Linked DNA regions of Homo sapiens: region 2 is linked to region 1. The links are contacts of gene promoters, found by promoter capture Hi-C in human tissues and cell types (Jung and others, 2019). All regions are on one chromosome and are shown on one strand. The core of a region is centred on a gene start or on the middle of the fragment in contact, and the rest is flanking DNA. Distances in the headings are between cores, read along the strand shown.

Region 1 (5,715 bases), core at 1,995-4,494:
GCCTTGTAGGTTTTTTTCAGTCTAGATTTATCTGCCTTATAAGTGGCAGCATTGGATTGCTTATTAAGCTTTTGGTCATTTTTGCAAGTTTTAATCTTTTTCTATACCTTCAAAACTTGCTGCTTGAAGCTAAAAAATTTGTTTCCTTTTTCATAATAGCATCCCTTCCAATGATATCATCCCACCTGTGGCCACTTCCTCCTAGTTCTCTTTCAATCTCTGGCCACTCCTTTTCCATGTTCTTTACAAAATTCATTTATGATGCTCTTTTTTGGATGTTTACATAGTCTGGGGCATGGTTCTATGCTTTAGTCTCTTGTTAGTCCACCATTTTTCCTACTTGATCTTATCTAGTCCAATGGCTTCAATTAGCACATAATGCTTGAGGCTGACTTCCAAATGCATAATTCTACCCAAATGGCTTAGTCTGTTCAGGCTGCTATAACAAAATACCATAAACTGGGTGGATTATAAACAACAGGAATTTATTTCTCACAGTTCCAGAGGCCGGGAAGTCCAAAATCAAGGTGCTGGCACATTCAGTATCTGGTGAGGACCGGCTTTTTGTTGTGTCCTCACATGGCAGAAGGAGTAAAGATGTGCTTTTGAAGCCACTTCTATAAGTGCACTAATTGCCCCCACAAAGGCTCCACATCCTAATACCCTCATAATTAGGGACTCAGTATCAACATATGAATTTAGGGAGGCAGAGGACATAAACATTCAATCTATAGTACCAAACCTGTCTCTCCTGAGCTCCAGTCCCATATTTTAAACTACTTACTAGACAACATCCTCACCTCTGCCTCATACTCAACTGACCAGAAACAAAATTCATCATTTATCCCCCAAACTTGCTCCATTCCCTTTGTTCTCTAATTTGGTAACTTGCACCTCCATTAACTCAGGTAACAAAGCTAAAAATGTGATTATATTCCTTATCTCATGTATTCAACTAGTTACCAAGTTCTATTAATTCTACCCTCCTAACATCTTTCATATATCCTTTTTTAACCCTCTTCACTGCCACTACCTTGCTTTAGAGCAAGCTTGTCCAACCCATGGCCCATGGGCCACACGTGGCCCAGGATGGCTTTGAATGCAGCCCAACACAAATTCAAAAACTTTCTTAAAACATTATGAGTTTTTTTTGTGTGATTTGTTTTAGCTCATCAGCTATTGTTAGCGTTAGAGTATTTTATGTGTGGTCCAATACAATTCTTCCAACGTGGCCCAGGGAAGCCAAAAGATTGGACACCCTGCTTCAGAGCCCATATTAGGTTTTTTTTTTTTTTTTTTTGGTCATAAACTGCAGAAATGAACCCTAAGAAAATAAAGGATTTATTTGAAAGAATATTAGGAAAGCTCACAGAACTGAAGAGAAAATTGTGTAGTCTTGCTTTAGGAAGGACTAGATCTGGGGCAGCTCCGGGGACCTCAGCAGGTAGAGCTCAGAGCTCAGAGTCTTCCAGCCTGGGATACCACATGAGGTGGCTCAGGTGCAATCATCTTACAGCTCTGTGGGTCATTAGCAAACTTTCAAATTCTTAGTATAACCTGGTTGGCCACCTTTGAATCAATCATCCAGAGCTAGGATGCAGGAGTGAATGGCACTAATTGGTGATGGCTATAGACCCTTATAATTTCTCAACCCCTCCTCAGCACTGTCATAGACTTCTCAAGGACCTCTTTGCATCTTTCTAATCTATAGTTCTTCTGTCTTTCCAATCTATAGTTCACATGCCACTATTTTTGTATTTCTAAAATATATATTGTTCAATAAGGAGATTATACCTCATTTAAAATCTCTTGTTAGCGCTTCATTACTCAGAATAACCCACAAACTTCCTATCAAATAGTTCATTTTAGGATTTGGATCCTGTCTTCCTCTCTAGTCTCACCTCTCACTACCCTTCCCCTAAATCTTATGTTCCTGGCATATTGCAATTACAGTATTTTCAATTCCCCTAAATAAGCCAGGCTTTGTTGTATTCTCATGTTTTTGCCTCTGCTTCTCCCTCTTTCTCAAATGTCTGTCCTCTCATCACCTGGTTAATTCACACTCATCTTCCCCAGCTCAGTTTAGGCAGTAGTTCCAAATCTCTCTCAGTCTCTTCTCAGTATGGGTTAAGTCCCCTTCCTCATTGCTTCCATAGTACCCTAAATTTAGATCTAATTTGGCATTCTACTCTGTTGCAATCAACCGTTTCTTTGTCTCTCTTCCTGGCTAAACTGTGAGCTCCTAAAGGAGCTCAAGAATTACATCTGATTTATGCTTTGTTCTCATCACCTAGGAGAGTGTCTAATATGTCATAAATGTTCAGCAAATATATTGAAATAAGCAAACACTAGTTTTGAATGCATAAGATACAAAGCACTGGGAGGGGGGCACAAATATGTTTAAAATTTACATTTCCACTTTTAAGGGACTCACAGCTTAAGAGGCAGACAAGACCCGCACATAAGAAAAGTGAAAACAGAACTACAAGACACTATACAATGACATGCACAAAACCCAGTGACTATAGTCTAGAGTTTGGGATTGCATTAATCTAGAAAATCTTCTCTTTAAAGGAATGACCTGAGTAGTAACATAAAGAAAGAAGATTCAGGGCTGGGCATGGTGGCTCACGCCTGTAATCCCAGCACTTTGGGAGGCTGAGGTGGGTGGATCACAAGGTCAAGAGATCGAGACCATCCTGGCCAACATGGTGAAACCCCGTCTCTACTAAAAATACAAAAATTAGCTGGGCATGGTGGCAGGCGCCTGTAGTCCCAGCTACTCTGGAGGCTGAGGCAGGAAAATCACTTGAACCAGGGAGACAGAGGTTGCAGTGAACTGAGACTGTGCCACTGCACTCCAGCCTTGTGACAGTGTGAGGCTCCGTCAGAAGAAAGAGAAGGAGAAGGAGAAGGAGAAGATTCAAATGGCTGAAGAGATTGGGGACAGCATTTTAAGTATGGGGAATAAGAAAAAATGCTCACTGTATTTGAAGAATGCAGTGAAAACATTGGCTTAGGTAGAGGTAGATTAAGAGATGGTGAAGATGTGTGTGTGTGTGTGTGTGTGTGTGTGTGTGTGTGTGTGTGTGTGTAGAGAAGTCATAGGCTGGCAAAATAAGAGATTGGCAGATTTTGTTTAAATATGCCTTTAAGTTTTGGCCTTTTCATTCTCTGTCTCCAACACAGAACACCTCAGCATTCTAGATTGCCTATTCATCACAAATTCCCTCTGTCTCCTCCAGAATCCAGAAAAGAATAATTACGATATTTTCAAAATGGAAAGTTCCCATGCCAAAGACTTTGCCTTCTTCACCAAACTATGATTTCGTGATGTTCTTAAAGGTAGTGTACACCAGGTTTTTACATTCTTATTTTGAATGTAGTTTTAGTGTTTGTGTGATTTGTTTTTCAGCCTGGCCTGCAGACTAGCAACCCAAGACTTATACTGCCCAATTTGACAGCTCATTTTTATTTTAGTTTCACCATATACATGAATTGGACTTACAATTCCAGAAAAATTAAAGGTGAGAAAAGGGTGAAACGCTTATTACTCTATTTCCCTAGAAGGGAACTTTAAGGGTTTAGCTCAGTCTTGTCATAAACTCTAGAAATCATCTTTAGGGTTTGTCTAGACAATCAAGTTAGACATAAACCCTTGTCTATGGGCTTTCCACTAAACCTGTGGGCTTCATAGGAATTTGGGCTGATGTAGGTCTTTTCAAAGTTCTACTTAATTGTCAAGGCCCCTATAATGTGACTCCATTCGACCTACCTGCTTTTATTTCTTCCTACTTAACAACGACAAATAATCTTCCAATTAGACTACTTCATACACTATCCTGCGAGGTTCTGCTCAAGCTCCACAACCTTTAGGAAACATCCCAAGGCTCACTGACCTTTCTTTTCTCTAAATGGTTGGTTCTACCTTATCAGCTTGTATCTTCCATTTCTAATTGTCTATATCAAAAAGTATAGCAATCCTCCCATTCCCAATATATACACACACTTTTCCCAGCTTCTCAGGCCTAATCTATGAATGAGCATGGCTTTGTTGACAGGAGGAGAAAATTGGAAGATGGCTGCTTCTCCACCTTTAGCCTTCTACGGACATATGTGAATTAATTTTATTTCAGATCTTTTTATAGTTAAATCTCATCACTATCATGGAATTAGAATGTCACCTTTAAATCATTTAGTTAATACTTTCCATTTTGCAGATAAGGAAATTGAGACCCCAAGAGATAAAGTGACTTACCTAATATATTAGCATGTATTTGTCACTATTGTTTTACATTGGATAATCGCTTTCTCCCACCTCCCCCGTTTGTGAAATAAATTTAACTTCTAAGAGCAAGCATCATCATGTCTTGTGCATTTTCTACATCTACAATAGCACCTATCAGTCTTTTCTTGTTTCCCATACAGGCTCAAGAATGGGGCATGAGTACACACTGTGTGCTAAGGAAAGAATATTTGGATTGAATTGAACCCCTGCAGAACGTGGACTATTTAGAGACCTGAATTTGGCCTTGGGTGAATACCTGCCTTGGGTTGGCCAACTAGCAGTCAACAGCAATGAGCCAAAAGAGACAAACCAAGTATGTAGTCTTGTTTGCCCAACTAAGTTATAAACACCACTTTATATTAACTTATTGCATAGCCCACAGCACGTTGAATGGTGCTGGTCACAGAGTAGACTCTCATTAAACATATTTTAATTGACTGATTGTCCCTGGATCAAAAACCGGATCTTGGTCTGTATTTCATGGTTGCTTTTGTCAAAAAGAAAGCACCAGCTTGTTCCAGATGGACGCTGTTGGGCTAAAGAAGCGCTTTTCATATAGTTCTATGCCTTAAATTGGCCCTGAAGAAGAGTATCCGGGATTCTGTGCTTCCTTTTAGGTATCAAAGAATCATTTTGAAAAGTGCTACAATAAATATTATACTGTATTACTAATTATTAGATAACTTAATGAAAGGGCACAAACTTTAAGATGTTAAGTTGGGATGAATTTTGGTCTCTCCATCATGGGTCACCTACTCTGTTGGGACCGTTTTTAAGACCTCTGACCTGAGTTAATGGTGCAACTGGTGGCCAGCAACAGATGGAAGGTAGCTATGCTTGAATGGGATAGAATCATGGATTTGGGGATTATTTGTAGCACGCTATAGCCAGTTGACCTACAAACGACATAGCGTGGCTATTTCTACTTTTATTTTGGTCCTTATTCTGCTATCCTCATTTTTAAAGGAGAGAGGTCTAGTTGAGATAGTTGCATAATTCTTCTTACTTTGAGCTAATTTAACCACCCAATGGAACTATCTCCAAGGAAGAAGCAGGCCATTTATCTTAATCATTAACCAAATCTTACTGAGGAGCATTTTACATTATGTTCTGGCAGCAAATGGGTTTAAAAAGAATAGCAAAGAATAGAAGCTGCTTCACCCTATTTTCTGCAAAGAGAATTGGTATTAGGGTGAGGGTAACAGAGTAGAGTACAGAAATATTTGCCATTGTTGATTATTTTTACTACCCTAGTTCTAAGAAGAGAAGTCTTCAGAGATGTGGTTAGGAAGACATGAGAGCCAGTAATCCAAGCAAGGTCAACAAGAATTGGAAACTTAGTTGTGAGGTTCTATTAACTATATTCCTTCTCACAGATTCATTGGCTAATCATTGGCCAATCACTGGCAAAAACAGGGCAATTTCCA
Region 2 (5,592 bases), core at 266-2,765, 55 kb after region 1:
CTCATGCCACTTAGAGTGGCGATCATTAAAAAGTCAGGAAACAACAGATGCTGGAGAGGATGTGGAGAAATAGGAATGCCTTTACACTGTTGGTGGGAGTGTAAATTAGTTCAACCATTGTGGAAGACAGTGTGGCGATTCCTCAAGGATCTAGAACCAGAAATACCTTTAGAGCCAGTAATCGCATTACTGGGTATATATCCAAAGGATTATAAATCATTCTGCTATAAAGACACATGCACATGTATGTTTATTGCAGCACTGTTCACAATAGCAAACACTTGGAACCAGCCCAAATGCCCGTCAATGATAGATTGGATAAAGAAAATGTGGCACATATACACCATGTAATACTATGCAGCCATAAAAAAGGATGAGTTCATGTCCTTTGCAGGGACATGGATAAAGCTGGAAACCATCATTCTCAGCAAACTAACACGGGAACAGAAAACCAAACACTGCATGTTCTCACTCATAGGTGGGAGTTGAACAGTGAGAACACATGGACACAGGGAGAGGAACATCACACACCGGGGCCTGTCTCGGGGTGGGGGGCTAGAGGAGGGATATCATTAGGAGAAGTACCTAATGTAGATGACAGGTTGATGGGTGCAGCAAACCACCGTGGCACATGTATACCTGTGTAACAAACCTGCATGTTCCGCACATGTATCCCAGAACTTAAAGTATAATAATAATAAAAAAAATCATTGGTTCATCTCAGTAGCAGAATGGAGATGTCAGAGGAACAGGTTAGTGAATTTAAAGATAAACCAGTAGAAATAAATCCCAACTGAAAAGAGAGAGAGAAAAAAGAAAACAAAAATAAACAGCCTCACTGGCCTGTGAGACTGTATCAAAGGGCCTAACATTTGTGACATTGAAGTCCCTGAAGAAGAGGAGAAAGGTATTGGTGCGAAAAAAAAATTTGAGAAAATAATGACTGAAAACTTACAAATTTGGAGAAAGATAAATTTACAGACTCAAGAAACTAAGTGAAACTTAGACAAGGTAAATTCAAAGGACTCTGCTCTCAGTCACTTAATGAAACTGCTGAACACCAAAGATGAGGAAAACTGTTGAAAGCACCAAGAGGAACATGATTCATTACATATACACATCACTGTGGGTTTCTCATCAGAAAATCTGGAAGTCTAAAAACAGTGGAACACCAACTTTAAAGTGCTGAAAGAAAGGAAGTGATGACTCAGAATACCATATCCACTGAAAATATCTTCCAGGAATGAAGGTGAAATAAAGACTTCCTCAGATGTAGGTAAACTAAAAGGTATTTGTCACCAGCAGACCTGCTCTACAGTAAATATTATAGTAAATGAAGTTTTTTCAGGCTGAAGGGAGATGACACTAGATTGATCCCACCAAAACAACATATGGATAGTACTTAAAGAAAACAACAACAGCTGAAAACAACTGTCAATCCAGAATTCGATTTCCAGTGAAAATAACTTTCAAAAGTGAAGGTGATAAAAAGGCAATTTCAGACTTAAAAACCGCTGAAAGAATTTATCTCTGACAGAGTCACATTAATTATAAAAGGGATTTTTTTCACCAGGATGAAAATGATAATGAAGATATGGATCTATGCAAAGAAATGAAGAATACTGGAAATGTTAAACTGAGTAGATAAACAAGAAATTTTCCTTGTTTACGTAATTTTAAAAGTTAATTGACTGCTTAAAGAAAAGAATTTAGTATGGAGTTTATAACATATGTAAAATAAAATCTGTGACAAAAATAGCATGAGGCAAAGAAGAGAAATGGTACTTTATTACTATAAAGTTTGTATCCTCTTTATGAAGTGTTTTAGCACTTGAAGAAAATCTAATAGGTTAAAGATTTACTGTATAAAGCCACCACTAAAATAACAATGCAGAATTATAGCTAATAAGCCAACAAAAGAGTTAAATAGAATCATAACATATATTCCACCCAAAAGAAGGTTGGGGAGGAAAAGAAAAGGGAACAAAATTCAGGCCAGGTGCAGTGGCTCACACCTGTAATCCCAGCACACTGGGAGACCGAGGCAGGTGGATCGCCTGAGGTCAGGAGTTGGAGACCAGCCTGGCCAACATGGCGAAACCCCATCTCTACTAAGAATACAAAAATTAGCCAGGTGTGATGGCACGTGCCTGTAATCCCAGTTACTCGGAGAATCATTTGAACCTGGGAGGCGGAGGTTGCAGTGAGCCCAGATGATGCCACTGCACTCCAGCCTGGGTGACAGAGCAAGTCTCCATCTCAAAAAAAAAAAAAAAAAGAAAAGAAAAAGAAAAGGGAACAAAAACCAGATGAGATGAATGGAAAAGAAATAGCAAGATGACAGACTCCAACCCAACCATATCAATAATTACATTAAAGGCACCTATTCTAAACACTTCAATTAAAAGGGAAAGATGGCTAGATTGGATTTTTTTTAAGAGATGGGGTCACTCAGTGCAGTGACATGATCATAGCTCACTGCATCTTTAAACCCCTGGGCTCAAGCGGTCCTCCCAAGTAGTTGGAACTACAGGCATTAGCCACTGTGCCCAGCTCAGATTGGATTTCTTAAAAAAGCCAAATCCAACTTTATGCTGCCTATAAAAACATACCTTAAATATAAAGAAACAAATAGATTAGAAGTAAAAAGATGAAGCAAGATATACCATGCTAACTGTAATCACAAGAAGCTGTATGTCTTCAGATAATGTAGACTCCAGAATAAATAATATTACTAGGGATAAAGGGGTCAGCTTACCAAGAGGACAAAGTAATATTGTTTATGGAGCTAATAACAGAGTTTCACAGTGCTTGAAACAAAAATTGGTAGAATTGAAAGGAGAAATCAACAGATCCACAATTAAAGCTGGAAATTTCAGTACTCATCTCTCAAAAACATAGAGCAAGTATACAGAAAAATTATTAAGGAAAAACAATTTGAACAAGAAAACTGAGACTCTTTGCTGATGACATTGTCTATGTAGAAAATTTGTGGAATCCAACAAAAGCTACAGGAAGTAATAAGTGAGCTTAGCAAATTTGCAGAATACAAGATCAATATGCAAAAATCAATTATGTTGTATATACTTGCCAAGAGCAGTTGTAAGTTGCAATTAATCCTGTTTACAGTAGCATCAAAATATGAAATACTTTGGGGTGAATCTGATGAAAGATGTATAAGATATATAGACTAAAAACTACAAAACATTGGTGATAGAAATTAAATAAGACCTAAATAGGGGCCGGGTGCGGTGGCTCAAACCTGTAATCCCAGCACTTTGGGAGGCCAAGGCAGGTGGATCATGAAGTCAAGAGATCGAGACCATCCTGGCCAACATGGTGAAACCCCATCTCTACTAAAAATACAAAAATTAGGTATGGTGGCGCGTGTCTGTAATCCCAGTACTTGGGAGGCTGAGGCGAGAGAATCACTTGAACCCGGGAGGCAGAGGTTGCAGTGAGCCGAGATTGCGCCATTGCACTACAGCCTGGGCGACAAGAGCGAAACTCTGTCTGAAAAAAAAAAAAGGAAAGGAAAGAAAGAAACAAAATGCTAGTAATTAAAAACAGTAGCAGAGATGAAGATTGCTTTCAGATTCATTCGTAGACTTAACACAGCCAAAGAAAGAATAAATGTACCTGAAGATAGGTCTATAAAAATGCCTAAACTGACACACAAGAAGACTTCCTAAAAAAGAATTTCAAGAGCTGAGAGAATATCAAACAGACTAGCATATGTAGAATTCCAGGAGAAGGGCTAGGCGTGGTGGCGCAAACTTGTAATCCCAGCACTTTGGGAGGCCGAGGTGGGTGGATCACCTGAGGTCAGGAGTTTGAGACCAGCCTGGCCAACTTGGCAAAACCCCCTCTCTATTAAAGATACAAAAAATTAGCCAGGCATGGTGGCATGTGCCTGTAGTCCCAGCTACTCGGGAGGCTGAGGCAGGAGAATTGCTTGAACCCGGGAGGCAGAGGTTGCAGTGAGCCGAGATCACACCACTGCATTCCAGCCTGTATGACAGAGTGAAACTCTGTCTCAAAAAAAAAAAAATGATAATAATAATAAAATTCCAGAAGGAGAAAGGAGAGAGAAAGCATTTGAGGTAATAATGGCCATTTTTTTCCCCAAAATTAATTACAGACAACAAAATGCATGTCCAGAAAGCTCAAAGAACACCACATGGGACACATACACATACCTCTAGGCATATCAGTGAAACTGCCAAAAAGAAAATTTAAATAGAAAATTTTAAAGGTACCCCCCCCAAAAAAGGACAAAACATTATACAAATAGAAACAGATTATAGTAGACTGTTTTTTTCAGAAAACATGCAAGCTAGAAGACAATGTTGTGTCAACTGATAATTTTATACCCAGTGAGACTATCTTTAAAAGGTGATAGAAAAGTAAAGACTTACTAATTTATGAGACAGCATCTTGCTCTGTTGTCCAGGTTGGAGTGCAGTGGCATGACTCCTGTGCTCAAGCAGTCTTCCTATCTCAGCCTCCTGAGTAGCTAGGACTACAGGCGAACACTACTATGCCTGACTAATTTTTTATTTTTGTTTTTGTAGAAAGAGGTCTCATTACGATGCTCAGACTGGTCTTGAACTTCTGGCATCAAGTGATCCTCCTGCCTCGGCCTCCCAAAGTGCTGGGATTACTGGGATGAGCCACTGTGCCCAGCCTAAAGACTTTCTTACACAACAAAAACTGATAATTTATTGGTAGCTGTCTTACTCTGCAAGAAATGTTAAAGGATATTCTTCAGATAGAAGGAATATGATACCAAGCAGAAACTTGGAGCTACACAAAAAGAACACTGGAAACAAGCCAGGGCAAAATCACATTCACTTTTTTCTTTTTGAAAAATTATTCTGGACAATAGCTGTATGTCTAAAACAAAAAATAGTAGTGTAATGTGTTTAAAGCATATATAAAAATATATTAGAACAATTGCACAAAGAATAGAAGGAAAGTATTGGGAATATACCCTTGAGAGGTTCTTATTCTAGCCATGAAGTGATACTCTTAGTTATTAAGTAAAGATATAAACCCTGGGGCAACAACTAAAAAAAATTTAAAGAAGTATAAACAATAAACTAGTAAAGGAAGTAAAATGGAATAATAAAAATAGTTGGTACCAAAGTTATTAAAGGAAAAAAGTGTTCAGTTAACCCAAACTCAGGCAGAAAGGGGGCGGGGGTAGAGGAGATGGGCAGAGAAACAAAGACCAGATGGAACAAATATAAAACTAGCCAGACCACAGACTGATTTGAGGAATAATAAAACTGTAGTCTCCTGCAAAACAACAACAAAAACAAAAACAGAAAACAAACTAACAAGACCACAGATTTCAATCCAGTCATAATCAGTAATTATATTAATAATGGATTGTCTAAACACACCAGTTGAATGACATGTATGGACTTCTCGTTAGTTGAAGACAATGAAGGCTGTATACTAATCAATGACTCAAAATCTCCCTAAATGATAAGAAACAATTTTACAACTACAGTTGTTCTTGGTAAAACTACATCCTCAGAGTTATTTCAGTTCAGAGAATACTGAAAAGTATGAAACCACTTTGAG

What was found. The method cuts DNA at HindIII sites, captures the fragments that hold promoters and counts their contacts. A contact is called where the count stands out against the background at its distance.
Region 2: a contact is called between a fragment that was not itself captured here and the fragment with the promoter of TSGA13 in region 1, in 1 of the 25 tissues and cell types used here (small bowel).

What each region holds. Positions count from the first base shown.
Region 1 is chr7:130,684,074-130,689,788 of GRCh38, reverse strand. TSGA13 (testis specific 13) reads left to right here and starts at 3,244. Exons shown (of 8, transcript NM_052933.4): 1 at 3,244-3,527; 2 at 4,429-4,601. The coding sequence starts at 4,579. The HindIII fragment of the contact is 12,595 bases long and covers 560-5,715 here.
Region 2 is chr7:130,627,859-130,633,450 of GRCh38, reverse strand. The region is part of intron 5 of COPG2 (coat protein complex I subunit gamma 2); the gene reads left to right. Among named protein-coding and RNA genes, the nearest start is that of COPG2, 38 kb to the left of the region's middle. The HindIII fragment of the contact is 9,308 bases long and covers 1-5,592 here.